2 separate regions of the Homo sapiens genome follow, and region 1 is linked to region 2. The links are contacts of gene promoters, found by promoter capture Hi-C in blood cells and fetal thymus (Javierre and others, 2016). All regions are on one chromosome and are shown on one strand. The core of a region is centred on a gene start or on the middle of the fragment in contact, and the rest is flanking DNA. Distances in the headings are between cores, read along the strand shown.

Region 1 (5,120 bases), core at 981-3,480, 280 kb after region 2:
TCAAATAGAGGGAGAAAGCTTTACATAGTATATGGAACACGTACCTGACAGCAGTAATTCAAGCACATGCTGAGAATGGCCCTATAGTCTAAGAATGTGTGTTTGGTGTTCTGAGCTAAGGAATCTAGGAATGGCCAACCTGGGGATTCACTCCTTATCCATGAAGAACCTCCAAACTCCAGGCCCATTGCTTGGAATCAGGCAATACAGGGGATTGAGGCCCTTTGTTTTGGGTTAAATGGAGATTGGCAGGTGGAGGTTGGCAGATGGAGGTGGCTAAGTGAAAATATAATATATCCTGCATGGTTTTCACACATGGGAGCAGTTTTCCTGTCCAACTCACTGCTCCTGGACTACCCCGTATGTAAGTCCCCAATGATCCCTACGTCTTGTTCACAGGCTCCAGGTCTCTTCCTCAGCCTCTTGGACATGGTGCCATTCCTATTGGAGTCAACAGGCGTTCAGTACAACACATGGGAACAGAAATGTTTATAAGTAGAATGAAATAAAATATTACCCTGTAATAAAATAAAAGGCCACATGTGTGGTTATAAATATAGTTTGGTTGACAGATAGGATAATGGAAAAAATGAGTTAGTTCTCATTTTACAGAAAAACTGTTGCCATTGCCTTTTTTTCCATAAAATACTACATATTGAGTAGTTGAGAATGTGGGTAGGGGAAAGAAGTGTCTTAAAATTGAATAAAGATTAAAATATGAAAGATTCCTCCTAGAGAGTCAGAATTTTATTTACTAGGGAAGTGTATCCAGATTTCCTAGCACCAAGTGTCTATTTACTATTTGTGGCTACAGCTACAAATGCTTTCTCACCTGCCTTTGAAGAAAATAAAACTATTTTACCCCAATTTATACTTCTTTGATGTATTTTGAGATGTCTGTTCAGAGAGCCAGCAAACAGAAGTAGCCCTGAAAAGCTGTCTTTTGAGGGAGGGGATCTGCAACTGCAGAGAAAATCTACATTAATGCAGCCAGGTTTTATTTGAGGCCAGCCCTTGTGCAAATCCAGAAAAGATTAACTGATAGATAGGCTGATATCTTTAAAGGTCTGAAAAAAAGATTTACTACCTGTTTTCTCTGAGGGCTACTACCTGTGAAGTTTCATCTACATAACAAGACCAACTTTGCTAGTCAGGCCTCCTCTTTTTCCTCTTTTCTCCCATAACCTGTGTTACCACCATAACCTGCTTTGTCATGTATGTATACTGGGCAGTGACATTTTGAAAATTATCTGGGCAGTGAACTTAATTCAAATTAATTGGGACAACAATTTAGATTTCAAGAAAAATTAAGTTGGAAATTATAGGAGATCGGTCAGGGTGGCGGGAAAAATTATAGAAAGAAGCAAATCTTCTTGGAAGGCCAGGAGGTTTTGCAAAAGCTTGGGGAAAGGATATAGCTGAAGGCAGCTGAATTCTCTCGGAGTAGATAACAAGGAAGCACAATGGAATTGATATAGATAAGTTAGTTTACTTAGGCCTTGGAACCTGGCCTTTAATTATCTGCGTGCAGGACTGCTCTCCCCAGGGGTGGGGAGGGGGGCCCAACCGTGTTAATTACTCAAGGCCTTTGTGATTAAATCTGTACTGAATAAATGCCCCCAAAGCTAGCTTGTCGAGGCTGCGGCTGCTGACTCTTTATGGCACCCTCCTCAGGGTCTTTGAGCAGCCCAGTCCCCTAGCCATGCAGCCAGGCAAGAAACCTGTGTCTGGCATACTCCATTCATCCGTCGCTCAGTCAGGGTCTGAGGGTCAGACACGGCAGGAAATCACAGGAAACTATTTTTAAGATAGATTGCTGTTTTACATACTTCTTCCAAAATAGTACCAAGTAGAAAGAACAACTCGAACTGTTTTTCCTCTGCTCTCACACCAGAGACACAACATATAGACTTCTGCGACCAAACGTGTGGGGATTTCTCCCCACCAAAAAGGCAAGCAATCATTTCTGGAGTGAACACCAGCTGGCTGTCCTTCAATTCTGTTGAGACATCATCTAAACTGGAGATAATATCAGATTCCATGGTTTGAGGGCTCAGTCTCACAAGACTTTTTCCCATTTCCAATGCCAATCAGAAGCCCTGGGTTATTTTGCCTGTACTTCTGACTGACCCACTATAAATCAGGGATCCCATGCCCCCAGTCTTGGACTTAACTAATTTGCTGGAGCACCTCACAGATCTCAGGGAAACATGTTTATCAGTGTATTATAAAGGAAATAATAAAGGATACTGTTGACCTAAACAAAGAAACCAAGACAAAATTAATATAGGTAGAGAGTTTATTTTGACTAAGGTTGAGGACTGAAGCCCAGCAAACACTGGGAAGTGCTCCTGAGATCAAAGAAAAGGCTCAAGTTTTTGAAGAAAAAAGGTAGAATTAGGGGAGATGATTACAAAAGTTCTCTTTTCAGAAATTTGTGTTGGTTTACAGAGATAACTTGATTCATGATTGGCTATAAGGTTCGACTTATGCTGCCAGCATATGGCATCATTATGTTAATTGAGTCTAGAGTCCTTATAGCAGGTGGCTTAGAAATGATTACTTAGCTCAAGGAGGAGAGGGTGGGACATGACTGTAATCTAATTTCAATGTCTCTCTGGGCCTGATAATTTAAAAGGGAGATTGCATTTCACAATAAAAAGTTTAGTTTCTTTTGCAATACAAACAAAGAACCAGGTGAAGAGGTATATAGGGCAAGGTCCAGAAGGGTCCCAAGCACAGGAGCTTCTGTCCTCATGGAATGTGCTAAACTTCCTGCACATCAATGAGTTCTTGTTCATCTTCTTGTAAGCCTATGTATTACCTGGAAACCCTCCAAAACCTGTCCTTTTGGGTTTTATGAAGGCTTTATTATATAGGCATGACTAATTGAACCATTGGTCATTAGTGATTAACTGAATTTTCAGCCCCTCTTCCCCTTCCTGGAAGTTGAGGGTTGAGACAAAAAAATCCAACCCTCTGGGCACAATGAATCATTCCCCTGGGAATCAGCCCTCCAACCAGTTGTTTCTAGGGCTTTCTAAAAATTGTCTTATTAACATAAGCTTAGGAGTATTTTATTTTATGTATTTATTTTTTCTTTTTAAAAAACTTTTTATTAAAAAAAGTTTAAACCTTTAGAAAAGTTACAAAAATTGTAAAATGAACTCTCATATGCCTTTACCTAGATTCATCAACTTTTTCTTTTTCTTTCACAATTTTTTTTATTATTATACTTTAAGTTCTGGGGTACATGTGCACAACATGCAGGTTTGTTACATATGTATACATGTGCCATGTTGGTGTGCTGCACCCGTTAACTTGTTTATTTACATTGGGTATATCTCTAGCTTAGGAGTATTTTAAAGCACTTGTTGTAAATAACAAAAGACTGTCTTTCAACTTTATCTTTTAGGAGTGACTTCAGGAACCAAGGATAATCAAATACTTTAACAAAAGATATTCTTACTGCTTTAGTACTTGGGGCATGAGAAGTCTTATAGGAATCTTCCTAGTTGAAAACTAGGAGTCACGGATGGACAAAAACAAATTATATCTATCGTAACATCATAGATACTTATAAACATAAAAAGAAAATAATATTTCTGAGAGCCCAATATGAGGCAACCCCATTGAATGACTTATATATGTTAGCAGGTTTGATACTAACAACGCTTTTATTTTTGTAATTGCCCACTGCACAGCTACAGCCGATTCGTAGACAGCAGTATTACAGTAAAGATTTTAATAAATACAGAGCTAGCCAAATGGAAGGACAGGGGTTTATTACTCAAATCAGCCTCCTTGAAAGCTTGGGGGCTAGAGTTTTTCAAGGATAGTTTGGTTTGTAAGGGGCTAGGAGATGGGTAATGCTGATTGGTTGGGGATGATATCATAGGGGTTTGAAAAATAGTTCCTGTGTGCAGAGTCAGCCTCTGGGTGGGGACCACAGGATCAGTTGAGTCATGAGTCATGAGTCCAGGTGGAGTTAGTAGGTCATCGTCATCAGAATGCAAAAGTCTGAAAAACATCTCAAAAGACCCATGTTAGGTTCTACAATAGTGATATTATCTATAGGAGAAATTGGAGAAGTTGCAAATCTTGTGACCTCCAGAACAACGGCTGGTTATTATCTAGGTTTGCCTACATTTTAGCAGAATTCAGGCCTCTCCCATAATCCTAATCTTTCATTAGTTTTACAAAGGCAGTTTTGTCTCTGAGCAAGGAGATTTGTTTTACAGAGGCACTATTATCATTTTTGCTTCAACGTTAAACTATAACCTAATTCCTCCCATGGTTAGCTTGGCCTACACCCAGAAATGACCAAGGGCAGCCAATGTATGAGTCTAAAAGCAAGAAGAAATCAGCCATGCTAGACTTCTCTCACTGTCATAGTCTTTGCAAAGGGAGTTTCATTCTTAAAAACTATAAAAAAATCCAGAGATGATTTCTTTAATAAGTATTAGAGCTACAATTTAAAATCTAGCACCTCTGAATGGAGTGTCTACATTGTTTTTGCTGTTATCACACTGGTACCAATAAGAAAAATATATAATATAATTGAAATATAAAACATTTTGAAAGACTTGTCTGCTGAGACTTCCTTCCTCGAAGACTGTAAGACCTTGCTATAGATCAGGAGTTTATTACTCAGATCAGCCTCCTTGAAAGCTTGGGGGCTGGAATTTTTCAAGGATAGTTTGGTTTGTTTTTTACAATATGTTTTTTTTTTTACAATATGGTTCCAGAAGCATGAAGACTTAACTGCCTCTCTAACGGCTCTTAGGGTGTTTACAGCTCACTGAATTAAATCTGATTGTCTGGTTAATGTTGGAGCTCAGAAGCTAATAACTCAAATTATGGCACTTTAACTTGCTGAACTGAAGAAACCTCAAGGTCTTTCTGACCTTCCCCGGGCTTCCATCATCTCTCCCAAAGAAGTTGAAGTGCCTTTATCTGCCTAAATTCCAGATCCACCAAGAAGAACAATTGGTTTTTTCTTTGCTTTTCTGTAAAACCAAAAATGTAACAACGCCTGAATAGACCCTTTCACTGTCAAAGAGAGTTATTTAAAAGTTAATCTGTTCCCAGGGATCCTTTTATTCTTCCTAGTAATATCC
Region 2 (4,606 bases), core at 1,390-3,889:
GGAAATGAATCTTTCTGGTCTGGATTATCAGAAGGACCAGAGTGAAGGATACATTGTCTCTTCCCTAACTTGCCTTTCTCTCCACCCCCACCCTTTTCCTTTCTGGGTTTAAAATTCTTAGGTAAAACCATATGCCTGACTCTTTTCTCCCTTCCAGTCAGGTCTTACTGGAAGGTGCCCAGTTCTCCATTTGTCTTTGTAGAATGGATACTTTATCCCCAGGGTCTCGGCAGGAGGAGGTGAGGGCCATGATGGTGAGGCCGAGCTGCCCAATGGTTAGATCTGCAGAGAAGAGAACACAACGGTTAGACAGAGACATCCTCAGGGGACAGCTCTCCAGGAGCCAGTGATGAGTTCTCTGCTTTTTATCTAGAGCATTTTGACTTTTTAATAATATGAGCAGTTCTTTGATCTGTCTTTCCAAAGAAAAAAATATGGAAGAATACGTAAGGGAATATTTAATCTAGTGGCCTCTGTGTAACTTGATGACTCTAGTATTTGGTATTTGAGAATCCCTGGTATTTGATTAGAAAAGCAGCAAAATACTCATATAGATTTATATACAGAAATTTACAGTTGCAAAATAATTTAAACTTTATCTAACTTGAGCCTGCAGGCAGCTCCTGGGAGATAGGCAGAACAGAGATTTTATTATTATTATCATTGCTATTAGTAGTAGTAGGGTTATTGTTACTACAATCATCTGCAAGGTGAGGCTGAGCAGTATCCAGTGACTTGTCTCAGATCCCAGAGTTATGACGTGGCAGAGCCAGAACCAGAAGGCTGCTCTTTCGACGTCTAGTCCAGAGCTCTCCCTGCTTTACTGACCTCCTCCATGAATGCTCTGACTTCACACATGTTTCTTTCCAGGTACCTTCCAGGTATGTAAGGAAAGGTGTTTGGGTAGTTTATTTACAGTCAGAGGCAGCATTGGGGTGGGAAGGACGCTGAGTTGGAATCTGGAGGTGGTATGTGATGTGTGAGATTCAGGGAGAGTGCGAGCGGCTCAGATGTCTCACCGTTGTTGTCGCTGGACATGAGCTGGTAAGTCAGGAGCTTCTGGGCCTTCAAGTTGTAGGCTCCGGCCAGATTCATGGCAATCAGGATGCTGGGGTTTGGGTAGGCTGATGAAGTCACCGAGTTCTCCATGAGTACTTGTATTCCATTGACCAAGGGCTCCTGTGCTGAGGGAACGGCTGAGAAGAGGAAAGCCATTTACTCACCTTCTAACCCTCATTCCTTCTCAAAAACATTATCCCCGTGTCTTTGATGCTTTTTCTTTCTTTCTTTTTTTTTTGAGACAGTGTTACTCTTGTTGCCCAGGCTAGAGTGCAATGGCACGATCTCGGCTCACTGCAAACTCTGCCTCCCAGGTTCAAGTGATTCTCCTGCCTCAGCTTCCTGAGTAGCTGGGATTACAGGTGTGCACCACCACGCCAGGCTAATTTTTGTATTTTTAGTAGAGATGGGGTTTCACCATGTTGGCCAGGGTAGTCTCGAATTTCTGACCTCAGGTAATCCACCCTTCTTGGCCTCCCAAAGTGCTGGGATTACAGGCGTGAGCCACCTCGCCTGGCCATCTTTGATGCCTTTTAGGAGAACACTTGATTAGCATTAGTGTCCTAAGTCACTAAAGAGAAATGGAGAAAATGGTGAGATTTTACTTTTGAGGACAATTAGTTTCTACATCTTCTCAAATAATCCATATCCTTAAGAAAGTGATTTTTAAATTTAGTAACTTCAAGCAATATGGCTCATGACATTTCTCATAGTTTCTATCACTTTCCTGGAAATCACTGATTTCCTTGCATTCATTTTTTTCCTTACTCTTTCATGAAGAGTATTAAAGATTTGGGATATAATTTATCCTCAGTGAGTACCAAAATCTCTCACTAGTATGTAGTGGTGTCTGGTCACAATAGCCACTGAGTGTCTGTCTTTGTACCATCAACCATTATTCCTGCAGTAGTACTTCCATCTCTATTATTTTTATTTATTGATTTTTTGAGACAGGGTGCTGCTGTGTCATCTAGGCTGGAGTGCAGTGGTGTGATTATAGCTCACTGCAGCCTCGACCTCCTGGGCTCAAGCGATTCTCCTACCTCAGCTTTCTGAGTAGCTGGGACCACAGGTGCATGCCACTGCGCCCAGCTAATTTTTTATTTTTATTTATTTATTTTTTTTGTAGAGATGGAGTCTCACCATGTTGCCCAGGCTGGTCTTGAACTCTTGGGCTCAAGCAATCCTCCTGCTTCAGTCTCCCAAAGTGCTGGGATTACAGGTGTGAGCCACTGCACCTGGCCCCATCTCTCTTAATAAAAAACATATAGACTTGTCTCTCAAAGAACTTATGCTATTAAGTCAGGAAGGATGAACAGCACACAATCACACTCAGACTTACCCATTTTGGAATTCCTATAGTGATTGCTATTTTCAACCACTCAGTGTCAGAGGTCACAGCCCCTTCCCCAGGGCAACTGCTTCCCTGACCTCCTTGGAAAAACATCATACTCACAGCATGAACTCTGGGTCTGGGTACTAGTCCCAGCTGTAGCCCAGAGAAGGCTCAGGAGGTAGAGGGCAAACCAGGCCATCTCACTCTCTCGTCTATGTCTCTCATCCACAGGTACCGCGATTTGCAAGTGGAATATTTCTTTACCTTCTCTTATATGTGCTTCCCTTTGTTAAATAATCTGTCCCCAACCCAGCCTCTCCTAACTGCCCCTGTGCTGACCTCTCCTTTCCTGATACAAGTAAGTAAATTTTCATTTGCTTATCTAAGTTTACCGACTATAGACCCTCCAAGGTGTCTGAAGGTGACTTCTAGGTTGCACAGTCATATGAGAAACCTGGGGCTGGGTATGCAGTGAAGGCAATGTTGAGAAAATGTCCTTTACCAAAGGCCTGGGTCAGACATCAGGAAGTTTGGATAATGTGCTAGTATCAACAAGACCTCTTCTAGCCCTTATTGTATCCAATCAGTTACCAGGCTGCTTTTTAGTAACTACTTCACTGGGATTTAGGCCATTCATAGGCATCAGCTCATTTTATGATCCTAGACACCTGCTTTACAACATGTCCTTTTAGGCTCTCAGGCAGGGATCTGCCAGGTGACATCTGGCTTTGTGAAATTAATGATGTCTACCTGGACCTGGATTCTAGCCTAGACTCTTTGAAGTTGTTTGACTTTAGGCAAGAAATGGACCTCGGTTTCCCAGAAATGGTTTTGTTTGATTTCTCTTTCCTTATCTGGAGATAAAAGCCATCTCAAACACCCAAAGCTTTCAGATATTATCTTTTAAAGTAAGTAATTAGAAAATGTGAGATCCATTAAGAATACATATTTCAGATGTGTAGCTACATTATAATGCAAATTATACTTCTTTATAAGGGAGAACTGAAAATGGTATGTTGAAATTATAAAGAAAGGAGTTTTGTTTGTTTTTTTCCTGCATGTAAAGTAGCTCATTTTAAGGGGATATTCTCCAGTGGCGCCCATCTTAGCATAAAAGTCAAAGCCCTTTTCATGACCTATAAGACCTTAGAAGATCTGGCTCCTGGTTTCCTTTCTGACCTCAGCTCCAGGCGTTTTCCCCTTTGCTCACACCGCTCCCATCACACAGAACTTCTTGTGCCCCTTGAACACATCAGCTACCTTTGCACATGATGTCCCCCTCAGCCCAGGACCCTCTTCTTTTAAATAGCCTCATGGTGGCTTCCTCACATCCTTCATGTCTCTGCTCAGAGGTAAGCTTTTAGAGACGCCTTCCCAGGCCACCCTACATAAGATCCTACATCCTCACCTCCACTGACACCCCTCATGCCCCTCGCCTGCTATAACTCATTGCCCTCTGTCGCACTAAGTGTGTGGTTGTTTATCGTTTGTTTATCTCCCTACTAGAATGTCTGCTCCACGAGGGAGGGGCTTTGTCTCTTTGGCTCACTGCTCTATCCTTAGCCCTTACAACACTACCTAGCTCACAGTAGAAATAAAATACTTTTTGAATGAGTGAATTAATGAGCAAATGTAAGACATGGGTAATAAAGCATTTTTTCCCCCTTGGGAAACATGGGTGAGTTTTGTGAGATGAGAGCACAGGGTACATACTGGGGTGTGCTGGACAACTTCTAACATGGCCCTGTGTTTTCACCTCCCGGTATTCATGCCTTGTGTAGTCCTCTTCCCTAGAGTGTGGGCTGGCCTGGGGCCACATTCTATTATAATGAATATAATGCAGCAAAGGTGATGGGATGTGGTTGCAAAAGACCGATTTCCCTCTTGCTTGCCTTCTCTCTCTTGCCCTTCCTGCTCTCATGAAGGCAGCTGCTAAGTGTGAGCTGCCTTATGGAGAAGCCCACATATGGCCCCTGAGAGTAGCCTCCAGCCGATATTCAGGGAGAAAAGAACCCTTCCCCAGTGAGCTTTGAGATGAAGGCAGCCCCAGCTGACATCTTGATTGCAGCCCTGGGAGAGACCCTCCTAAGCCAGAGGACCCATGTAAACCCTCCCTGGACTCCTGACCCACAGAAACTGTGGGATAATAAATGTTGTCTTAGGCCCCTAAGTTTTAAAGTCACTTGTTATGCAGCAATATATATCCAATAC

Evidence for each region. Contacts are between HindIII fragments. The CHiCAGO score rates a contact against its expected background, and 5 or more counts as called.
Region 1: a fragment that was not itself captured here is called in contact with the fragment with the promoter of CBLIF in region 2 in 5 of 17 cell types (M2 macrophages, M0 macrophages, M1 macrophages and 2 more); the score reaches 10.6 in M2 macrophages.

The regions. Positions count from the first base shown.
Region 1 is chr11:60,123,446-60,128,565 of GRCh38, forward strand. No RefSeq gene overlaps it. Among named protein-coding and RNA genes, the nearest start is that of MS4A2, 37 kb to the left of the region's middle. The HindIII fragment of the contact is 1,665 bases long and covers 1,399-3,063 here.
Region 2 is chr11:59,842,860-59,847,465 of GRCh38, forward strand. It overlaps CBLIF (cobalamin binding intrinsic factor), which reads right to left and starts at 2,640. Exons shown (of 9, transcript NM_005142.3): 1 at 2,516-2,640; 2 at 1,020-1,196; 3 at 169-282. The coding sequence starts at 2,594. The HindIII fragment of the contact is 3,325 bases long and covers 1-3,279 here.